Linked DNA regions of Homo sapiens: region 2 is linked to region 1. The links are contacts of gene promoters, found by promoter capture Hi-C in blood cells and fetal thymus (Javierre and others, 2016). All regions are on one chromosome and are shown on one strand. The core of a region is centred on a gene start or on the middle of the fragment in contact, and the rest is flanking DNA. Distances in the headings are between cores, read along the strand shown. Region 1 holds the start of CRISPLD2 (cysteine rich secretory protein LCCL domain containing 2). Region 2 overlaps ZDHHC7 (zDHHC palmitoyltransferase 7).

The links. The method cuts DNA at HindIII sites, captures the fragments that hold promoters and counts their contacts. A CHiCAGO score of 5 or more calls a contact.
Region 2: a fragment that was not itself captured here is called in contact with the fragment with the promoter of CRISPLD2 in region 1 in 1 of 17 cell types (monocytes); the score reaches 5.0 in monocytes.

The regions. Positions count from the first base shown.
Region 1 is chr16:84,818,668-84,823,912 of GRCh38, forward strand. CRISPLD2 (cysteine rich secretory protein LCCL domain containing 2) reads left to right here and starts at 1,318. Exons shown (of 15, transcript NM_031476.4): 1 at 1,318-1,466. RefSeq lists a silencer at 1,091-1,280. The HindIII fragment of the contact is 15,944 bases long and covers 1-5,245 here.
Region 2 is chr16:84,973,612-84,978,948 of GRCh38, forward strand. ZDHHC7 (zDHHC palmitoyltransferase 7) reads right to left here. Exons shown (of 8, transcript NM_017740.3): 6 at 4,313-4,394; 7 at 3,484-3,614; 8 at 564-2,908. The coding sequence ends at 2,732. Among named protein-coding and RNA genes, the nearest start is that of ZDHHC7, 35 kb to the right of the region's middle. RefSeq lists an enhancer at 2,720-3,919. The HindIII fragment of the contact is 645 bases long and covers 3,477-4,121 here.

The sequences.
Region 1 (5,245 bases), core at 68-2,567:
ACTCCTGATCTCAGGTGATCCGCCCGCCTCAAACTCCCACAGTGCTGGGATTACAGGTGTGAGCCACCGCGCCCGGCCAGTCTGCATTATTCTGTATCTGCATTTGAGCCGCACCAAAATCTTAGGCAAGCCTTCCCTGTTTGAGTCCACGTCACGCAGGCAGCCTTCCATAGTCCTTGTTCCACCCATTCCCCATCCTTGTTTCTCCCACGTGCCCTAGCTCGTGGGGGCCCCAGACTCTGAGATCCCGGAGGTGTCTTGTTTGTGCCTGCTGTATAGCACAGGGCCCGGCACAGAGCGACTCGATGGGTATTTGGGGAATGAGTTAATGCTGGAGGAGCTAATTCCGGTGTCTTGGTGCGGAGATGAGCAGTGCGGACAGGCCCCCTCCTGCCCTTGGGCCCCAGCACCTTACCGCGCAGTGCCTGCATACCCGTCCACATTTTGTGACTGAGGCGGGAGCACGGGGCAGTCCCTTAGCTCTTAAGGAACGTGGATTTACCTGTTTCAAAGGTGATTTCGTCTGGCTCTAAATTGATTTCCGTATGTACCTGCACAGGTTAAAAATGCTAAATGCCTCCGGGCAAAAGAGATATGAACATGCTGCACTGCTCCTAGCTACGGGACTTGGGGCACGCTCTTCTCCAAGCCTCAGCTACTGGATCTGTGAAATGAGGTGATTTCCACCTCCCTGGATTCCTGGGAACGCGTCCTAGGGTCGTTGAAGGTAAAGTGCGGAGCCTGGATCCCCGCGCTAGCGGCCCCATCCGGAAACAAGTCTCCCTTTCTTCGTCTGCAAATTGGGAAGAGGGGGCCTAAGTTTTCTGAGCACGTGTAGAGGGTGGGAGTCACCTCAGTAACTGTGTACTCTGCACCGCGCCACAGTTCACAGCGCCCAGCCCTTGCGGATTTCATTTGCTAAAATCCTGGGAGGTCGCCTCCTTATTCCTATTTTCCAGTTGAGCTGCAGAGAGCTGGGGTTTGGTAAATTTGCAAGCCCCTTGTGGGAAGCGCTTGGCACCGCGCCAGGCGCATAGTAAGCGCTCAATGAAAACTATGCTTGTGTGGCCAGTGGCGAGGGAGCTGAGCGTCTCCTTGTCCCTAGCCGGCCCTGGAGGCCAGCGGCCCCGCCTTCCTCGCCCACCCGGCGCCCGCGCCTCAGCTGCCCCCCGCCTCCTTCAGCCCGCTGAGCCTGCGGGGCGGGGCCGGGGGCGGGGCCGGTGATGCTCGGTCCTACCAGCGCCGCCAGCGATCTGGGGGCGTGGCCTCCGGGCTCCGGGGAGCCTACAAGAGGCGGTACGCTGAGCCCCGGCACCCACTCGCATCCCAGGGCGTCTCCGGCTGCTCCTATTGAGCTGTCTGCTCGCTGTGCCCGCTGTGCCTGCTGTGCCCGCGCTGTCGCCGCTGCTACCGCGTCTGCTGGACGCGGGAGACGCCAGCGAGCTGGTGATTGGAGCCCTGCGGAGGTAAGTGTGATTTCCATGCTTCTCCCTTTTGCAAACTGTTACCCCCCCGAGAAGCTGGAATAACTAGGACAGATGCCACCTCGCAGGGCTGACTGTGTGCTGGCACCACACCGAGTGCTCTGCTTGCATAGCGGAACACAGCTTTGCGACATGCCCTTTTGCAGATGGAGAAACTGAGGCTCAGCGAGGACAACTCATTTGTCCAGGACCTCGCAGCCAGGACTCCAAGGACCCAGGATTCAACGCCGATCTGAGCGCAGAATCCTGCTCCTTAGAGGCTGTTTACTCTCTTGCCTTCCTCGTGCAGTTCACTAGCATTTGTTGCATTCCTGTGTTCGTAGTGGGTGTCAATAACTGGAAAGCTGATGGCATGGATATGGCAGGCATTAGAATGTGTCCTACTCATGTCTGGAGGACCAGGGTGATCTAGTGGCATGTGCATTCAGCTGCAGTTTAGAGGGCCACGCCCCTCTGTGATTTCATTTGCAAGGTAGCCTTCTTCCCACATTTCAGATGAAGATGCTGAGGGTCAGAGAGGTGAAGTAAGTTGTCCGGGCAGAGCCAGGGCTGGAACCCAGCTCTGTCTGTCTCCAGAGCTTCAAATGGATGTGTAGAGACTTGGGGCCATGTCAGGGTTCTGCAGTCTGGGGGAACACGTTTCTGGGTTTCTTTAGCCAGAGCGGGCACCTGCATAACTCCTGCGTGGGGAGAGTTACCCTGGAAGCGGAGGGCTCACTCTGGAGTGTGGGGGAGATCGGTCGTCCCACGTGGACAGAGCCAGGGCTAGTCCCTCATGTGCTGCAGACCCAGAGCCTCCCTTGCTAAGGCTGGGCTGGTGGACAAGCCAGGGAGGACTTCGCTGATGCCTGCTCATCGCAGTCCAACTTGAATTGGGCGTCTCTCAGCCAAAATGTGAGTTGCTGCCCTGGCTGAGAGAAGCATCCCGTGCAAATGCCTAGCTTGCCTTGCAACCGAGAGTGGGGTTGTGAGTTTCCCCTTTGGGCCTTTGGACCTCTTGCCCTGGTAGAATGGGGTGAGCCTGCTTTCCCCATCCAGGGTCTGATGTCTGACAGTGAGGAGAGCCTGCAGAACAGGACCGGGGCGTGGTCCTTTCCAGTAGACTGAGGCCATGAGTTGTGACTGTCGGCTGTCCCAGGGCTCCTTGGGTTGTATGCACCTGATTTTCTGCTTCTGCCCCTGATCTGGCTGTTCCCACTCAGGAGAAGGGGTGGGTGTGTGACTGTGTTGCCTGTGCGGCAGGCACGCGGTCTGTGCCACGCAGTTTACCTGTATTGTCATCGCTGCAACACCCCGGGGAGTAGGCCTCTTGATGCCCACTTCACAGCTGAGGAAACTGAGGCTCAGCAAGGTGAAGTGCTTGCCTAAGATCCCCCAGCTGGTATGGAATGCTGTCACCCCCAGGTGGGTCCTATCTGCACTCTTGACCCTGCTTTCTTTAAGACACTTCCCTGCCCACTGCCAACTCCACCCATGAACCTGACCTTCACACAGGTGATGTTTTGTCTTACAGGGGCTCCAGTTAAAACCACTGGACAATGTACCCAGGGAGGAGAAACCAAGAGGGTGATTTTGATTTTTTCAGAGTTTCTTAAGATGTGAGAGTAGGAATAGTAATAATGCCATTTGTAATAATACAAGCAGCTGACATTTACATGATGCTTAGTACAGACCAGACATGCCCAGGGTTTCCACGGATGAGCTCACTGCCTGCTCTATTAGCTGGGCACTTTTTACAAGGAGTTAGTTGAGGCTCAGAATTATTAAGGTGTGTGCCCAACATGACACAGCCAGGGCGGGGTAGAGCTGCCGTCCAGGCTGGGCCCTGCCCCAGATTCTGGGGGAAGGTGCCCATCTAATGACCAGCCACATGACTGTCCCAGCAGAGCTTGCTGCTAGTTGAGGCTTTCTGTGCCATGTGGGAGTTTTTTTAACGTTGGCAGGGATCTGGGTCCCTGGTCCCTGTTGGGGTGAGGCTGGGAGGGGATCAACTGACCCTGGGCTTGGGCTCAACATTGCTGACAGGTACTGAGAGCCCCGTCCCAGGACCCAAATCAGTGCTGGTTCTGAGTCCTGCCTCTGTCCTGGAGAGGAGAGTTGGTTTGACTGGGAAGGCCTGAGCTAGGGAAGAAGACTGCGAGGTCTCTTAAAACCTCTGCACTTCATCCCTCAAAAGACCACAAATTAAGTATGTGGCCCTTTGTAAGTTGCATTTGAAAGTTTTTGGAGGCAGGACCCTCTGACGTCTTTGGAGGTCAGAAAGTTTTTGGAGGCAGGGCACTGACCTCTTTGGCCTGTGGGAACTGGAACTTTTCTTTCCTCTGTCACCAGCGTCATTTGCTGTGTGTGGGAGGTGTCTGCATGTCTGCCTGCGCCAGACTCAGGAGGCTTTTTCTTTCTTTTTCTTTTTTCTTCTTTTGCAAACGCACTGGTTTTTGATCAGTCCCAGATGTGCAAACCCAGGATCACTCAAACGGGCTGACGGCTTGTCAGGAAAGGAAAATTCAATCTGGGCATATTTCACTTCGTCTTCAGTTCATTGAGTGGAACAGATGCTCAGACCTTCCAGGGACAGGGACCTAAAGCACGTTGTAAAGTCTTAAATAGAGCACGCTGAGTTCTGGGACAGGCAAGGGACAGGTAGATCTGGGTGGTGGTTAATAGGATGGGCCATGTTCTGTTTTTCTTTTTCCTGAAAAGATGTATTGTGGTAAAAATACACATAAACATAAAATTTACCATTTAACCCATTTTGAAGTGTACAATTCAGTGGCGTTTAGTACATTGGAAGTATTGTGCAGCCACCACCACTAATTCCAGAGCGTTTCATCATCTCGTAAGGAAACCCCAGGCCCATTAGGCATCATTCGCCATTCTCCTCCCTTCAGCCGCTCATCTCCTTTCTGTCTCTACGAACTTGCTTATTCTGGACATTTCATGTAAATGGAACCACACAATGTGTGGCCTTTTGTGTCTGGCTCCTCTCACTCAGCATCATGTTTTCAAGGTTCATCCATGTTGTAATGTGTATGAGACCTTCGTTCCTTTTTTATGGCTGAGTAATATTCCATTGCATTAATAGACCACGTTTTGTTTATTCATTCTTCCACTGAAGGAAATCTGGGCTGTTTCCACCTTTGGCTTTTACAGAGGCTTCTGCTGTGAACATTTGTGTACAAGGTTTTTTGAGGGCGGATGTTTTCATATCTCTTGAGTGTTTACCTGGGAGGGAATTGCTGGGTCATATGGTAACTTTATGTTTAACTTATTGAGGAGACTGTGGCCTCTTTTTTGAGTTCCTTCTTGAAGCATCAACTCAGGTCATGTCATTCCAGAATGTGTTGCTGGCCTTCTCCATGGGTGCAGGGAAGCCCTGGCATTTGGCATTTGTGGGCAGTGTTGGCGTGCCACCTGGGTCACAGCAGCAGCAGGCAGGGAATCCTGAGACATCGCCCTGGGGGAGCCCTGCCTTCTACCCCAGGCTGTACAATGACGAGTACTCTTGGACAAAGACCCCTCTTGCAAGGCTGCGAGGACATCATGGTCCAGCCCGAGGGAGATTTATCTTTGATTGTCTTGAGTGCTGCATCAGCTAAGACAAAAACCACAGAGTCAGAGGGAAAAAAAACGTCCTGATGAGGATTGTGCAATTTCCGGACCATCATTTTTTAAAAATTATAAATTATGAAATCCCACATTTTCAATCCCAATTTCTGGAACGTGTTTTATTTTGAGCACAGAATGGCAACATCCCAGGAAAA
Region 2 (5,337 bases), core at 2,549-5,048, 160 kb after region 1:
GGCGCTTGTGCTTTTTTTTATGGGCACCCTGCTTTTTGTGTGCGGCTCCCAGGCTACCCTTCAAGCTATTTTCCCCTGCTTCCATACCCAAGCCAAGTTCATGTACAATAGAAGATAGGATTTAGCCACCTTCCTATTTGGAGGATATTTTTGTTTTGTTTTAATGCAAGCGTCATCCTTCTATACAATGAGCCTACATAACAATCTAATATAAGGAATACAAATAATATTGCAGCAAAATTCGGCAGAGCCACAAACACAAGCTGGAGGGCTGCTGCCCATGCAGCCGCCCGGCTCAGGTGTGCGCCTCCGTGTTCGAGTCTCCTTCTCATTTCCGCGTGTCTGGAATGCCACCAGGAGCCCCAAGGCACAGCACGTGCGAGGCAGGGCTGCGGCACACACTGACCATCTGGCCTCTGAAAGGTAAGCGAGGCAGGGCTGCGGCACACACTGACCATCTGGCCTCTGGAAGGTAAGTGGGCATTTTGGTTCCCTCAGTGCAAATGTTAGACAAATTTGTTGAATGAATTAAAATCAAATTGTAGGTACTTGAGATTCTGAACTGTGGAGATTTTGAAACATTGTTTTTATTTCAACGTGCACTAAAAAAAGGACTAAGTAAAACGATGGGAGTCGAATTAAACATTCAACAAGCAACAGTACTCACTGGGCAACATTTGTGAGTCGCGCTTGAGTGCCCAGGTCACTTGTCATGGGCACAAAAGCATTTAGAGTTTCTGGAAACTGTTTGGGAGTGACCTTAACAGCCTGGGGCTGGGCCCACGAAGCACGGAAAGGCACCCCCTGAAAACACCACCATCCAGGAAGAACGGGCGCTTTGGAAGCCATTTGAGAACTGTTAATTGATTACTTTATTTCATATAAAAGTTACATTGAAAGAAGAGGTTGAAAAGTCAAGTATACTTGATTTGCACACACTTGCCAAGTCTCACAGGATTCAACCACTTGGATAATTGTTTTATTGATAACAGGATATACATATTAAAAGCCTCACACTGAAGCCCACACGCATGTCCAACCCAGACAACAATGTGCAAATGAATATGCAGAACAATCTCGGAAACTGGCGTCTCCAGGATCACCCACACTTTGTCCCTCTGGCTGTGACGCAGCTCTTCCCCCAACGGCGCACACGCTTCTGCGGTGACCAAGTCCACTTCCAAACCCCCTGCAGGTTTGCTCGCTTGGCTAGGACGGTGGCTCAGGTAGGTCCCTTTGTGGTTTTGCATCAGCAGTGGTAGAAGCCCTGATTCGGATGGGGTACAGAGTAATTAAAAACAAAAAACAGTTCACAGATGAACAGAAAGGCAAAACAATTCCCAGGAGGGAGACGCCAACTTCTCTTAGTGTGGAGGGCAAGCATAAAGGAAGACCCTCAGACTTTGTCACAGATTGCTTCTTGATGCGTCCGGCAAAAAATGTACAAACCAGGCAAGTTTAAGGCAAGGCCCCACGAGGGGAGCTGTTGGCTTTCTGGCATAATTTTAAGCTCCGCACCAAGGATCCTATTTTATCACCTGTGCCGTGGGTGGAGAAGAAAACGTAAAAGCTAACCAAAAACTCCAACAAGAGGGCGCCATCCTGGCCATTCCCGACTGGAGCGCTGCCTGCGGTGGCACAGTCGCCCCTGCCAGGGGCTGGCTGCCTCATGGTCCCCTCCCCTTCCCAGAGGTGCCCAATGGCTGGGCCCTGCCTCTCCAGTAAGGATGCCTCCCCTGCCCCACACACAGCATCGGGCTGCCCCAAGTATCAAGTCACCGAGCCGCAGCTCTGCTCTTACCTAGGTGCCATTTATACACTGCTAATTTGGCTGGAACAAAAAAAAAAAATCAGTTCCAAGGCCCTCAAGCACTCAAGATTTCTTTAAAAAATGAAAGCAGGAGGGCAACGAAGGGCCGCACAGGAACGGCTGTTCTTTGGATCGAGATGTCCTCCAACAGCAATACATTCATAGTAACCACGGGCAGGACCCCGCGGCTCTCTCCCCTCTTCCCTGAAACGTCGGTTTCTAAAAAATAGCTTGTTTGCTGTACACAGCCGGTAAATGTTACATTGCCTAAACAACACTGGCAATTTTGACACACATGCACACACGCGCGCACACGCACAGACACGCACACACACAGACTTGCTGAGAGGGTCAAAGGATGTCTCTTCCGGGGCAGCGGGGAGTGTGCCGGAAGCCACCTTCACTGTTCAGTGCACAGATCTTTTGCAACTTCAGTGCAAAGCATCGGAGCTAATCGAGACCAAAACGTCTTTCTATGTAAACGCCCTGCTGTGATCCGGGGAGTGCACTGCTGAGTGGCGGGGTCAGCAGGAGCCCCCTGAAATGACTGCTTGGAGAATCCCTGTTCACTGGATTCACTGTTTTTCTTCATGATTGGAAACAGCAGCTCAGGACCCAGGATTTGAATAACCCATGTAATAACCCGAAGTATTCTCCACAGAAGCCCCAGCTCTGCAGGAGGCCACGGCGTTTGGCTTCTTCGTGTGGCCACACACCTTTCCGTTGTTGTACAGGTGGGGACTGAGAGCCTCTTCCTCTGCCATCTGTGACTATAAATATATAAAACTCTGCTTGCTGCAAGCAATTGGTTTGTGTAGGTTCCAGTTGCCCTGTTGGTCACAGATGAGCTGTTGATATCCTTCAGACCCCAAATAAATAACTGGAAGTCTGTGAGCAAGTTTCAGTCTGATGAGCCACGCCTCACACTGAGAACTCCGGGCCACCTTTTCTGGGTCTCGTGGGCAGTCGCCTAAATCGGAAGCCCACAAAGGGATTCATCCAGAGGAGTGAGGGGGGCCCCCCAAAGACGGACTTCATCCCTTCCCATCGCAGCCTCCGCTCCCATGTGGGCTTCTCACTTTTCAATCGCTCGATCTCCTGGAAGCAGAAAGAAAAGCAAGTGGCAGCGGCTCCAGGAAGCTCGGCAGACCCCACCAAGCCTCAGAATCACACCGTGCTCAAGCACAGTGTGGGCTCGATGGAGGGTAGGTGAGTGAACTCTCCTTCCCAGCTCTGCCCCGATCCAGACCCCGTGGCCTCTGTGAGCCCAGCCCGGCTGCAGCCACGTGGCCAGCCCAGACTACCACAATGGCCCTCCCAGCCAGGCACCAACATTTGTCGCTCGTTAGTTACTGTGTACAGACATTTACTGAGCGCCACTCCAGGCCTGCAGAGCCAGGCCCTAAAGGCAGTCAGTTCCCTGAAATTTACTGACTGCACTGGGAGCTGGGAATCTGCCTGGCTCTGCTGACTTGCAAATCAAACTGAGACTAGAAATATGCACTGCCCAGAATGAAAGAAACAGCAAACACAGGGAGCTGGTTGCAGCTCATCAAGACCGTCCCATTACGTTCCCGAGTCAGTCCACAGGCACCTATTGTTGACATTAGGACTTTTCATTTACTCAAGCTTGGACCACATATGAAGTCCACACAGCCGAGAACAAAGCTTACCGTCTCGTCGTTGCATATGGAGTGGATTTGGGTGCCAAACATAACTGCAGTGAAAGTGAAAAACAGAAGACCCTCAAGGCACAGGAAGATCAACAGGATTACAGTTATCGGAGGTGAAAAATCACTGCATTCTGCGGACAAGAGGAAGTTGGTTATAACTGGTCCTGAATACCCCGAGTGGCAGAATGTTTGGCTCAGAGAAGAATCCTCTAGGGCCAGCCCCTGGCCAGCTTCCAGGGGGAAGTTGTTCACTTTCTAAATGGGCACATTCATTGTTCTCCAAGGAGCAGAGGAGGGCCACCCTTCCAAGCAAAAATTCATACCATGACTTCCTGGCCAGTGGTTTCAAAAGAGTCTGTATTTTCTGAGGTTTCTATTGACACTGTATTTATGAATTAAATGGCAAATGAAGCCAGACCAGAAGAGTTGTGTGCACCCATACCAGTGAGCAGTGCTCACAGGAGTCTGTTCACCATGTTCCCCTGGGGTGGGATGAGCCTGTCCAGACCTCACTGCATATCTAAGGTAGGATAACGAGCACCTATTTTCACTACACTTGCTTAGGGTCGGTCACTCACGTAAGCAACGTGAAGCCTGCTTTGAACAATGGCGAGCTAGCTGACCAGCAGACAGACACAAGCTTTTGGGGCAACAATATACTAGTAAAATGGTGGTGTTAAAACTTAACTAAATTCTTTAAAATTCAATTGCTAAAATAATTGCAATGATTTCCTTCAAAATTGGAAAACTGGTTCTTCCTTTAAAGCTTTCCCCTTTCATCCAATAACAGCATGCAAAGCCAGGAATGACACATAGCCAGGGAACTTACCAGTCCACTGCCCTCGGACACAGGAGATGAACTGAAATCCACAAAGGATCAGAGCATGGACTGAAGACAGAGCTATATACATCTAGAATGAGGGGGAGATTGGTTAGTCACTTTTATTTTTTATTTTTTTTAGAAACAGAGTCTCCCTCTGTTGTCCAGGCTGGAATGCAGCGGCGTAGTCTCAGCTCACTGCAACCTCCGCCTGCCAGACTCAAGCGATTCTCCTGCCTCAGCCTCTCAAGTAGCTGAGACTACAAGCACCATGCCCGGCTAACTGTTTTGCATTTTTAGTAGAGATGGGGTTTCACCATGTTGGCCAGGCTGGTCTGTAACTGCTGACCTCTAGTGATCCACCCAGCCAGTTAGTAACTTAAACAAGTCTTTCTAAGAGCAAAGGCTGATGACACATCATGTGTATACCTCCATCTTGTCAGAGAAAAAAATGAGGGAAGGATTAAATGGCAGCAGTTGACATTTTCCTACCCAAGATCATATTAGACCAAGTAGAATAATTTTATAGAAAAATATAGCTGGGCATGGTGGCTCACGCCTGTAATCCCAGCACTTTGGGAGGCCAAGACGGGCAGATGGCTTGAGCTCAGGAGTTTAAGACCAGCCTGGGCAACACAGCAAAACCCCGTCTATAAAAAAATAAACGGCCGGGCACGGTGGCTCACGACTGTAATCCTAGCACTTTGGGAGGCCGAGGTGGGCGGATCGCCTGAGGTCGGGAGTTCAAGACCAGCCCAACCAATATGGAGAAACCCCATCTCTACGAAAAATACAAAATTAGCCAGGCGTGGTGGTACATGCCTGTAATCTCAGCTACTTGGGAGGCTGAAGCAAGAGAATCACTTGAACTTGGGAGGCGGAGGTTGCAGTGAGCTGAGATCACACCACTGCACTCCAGCCTGGGCAACAAGAGCAAAACTCCATCTCAAAAAAAAAAAAAAGAAAAAAAGAAAAGAAAAAGGAAATAAACTCTAACATACTTTAGGAAGATTCCTGTTATTATTAATAAACAA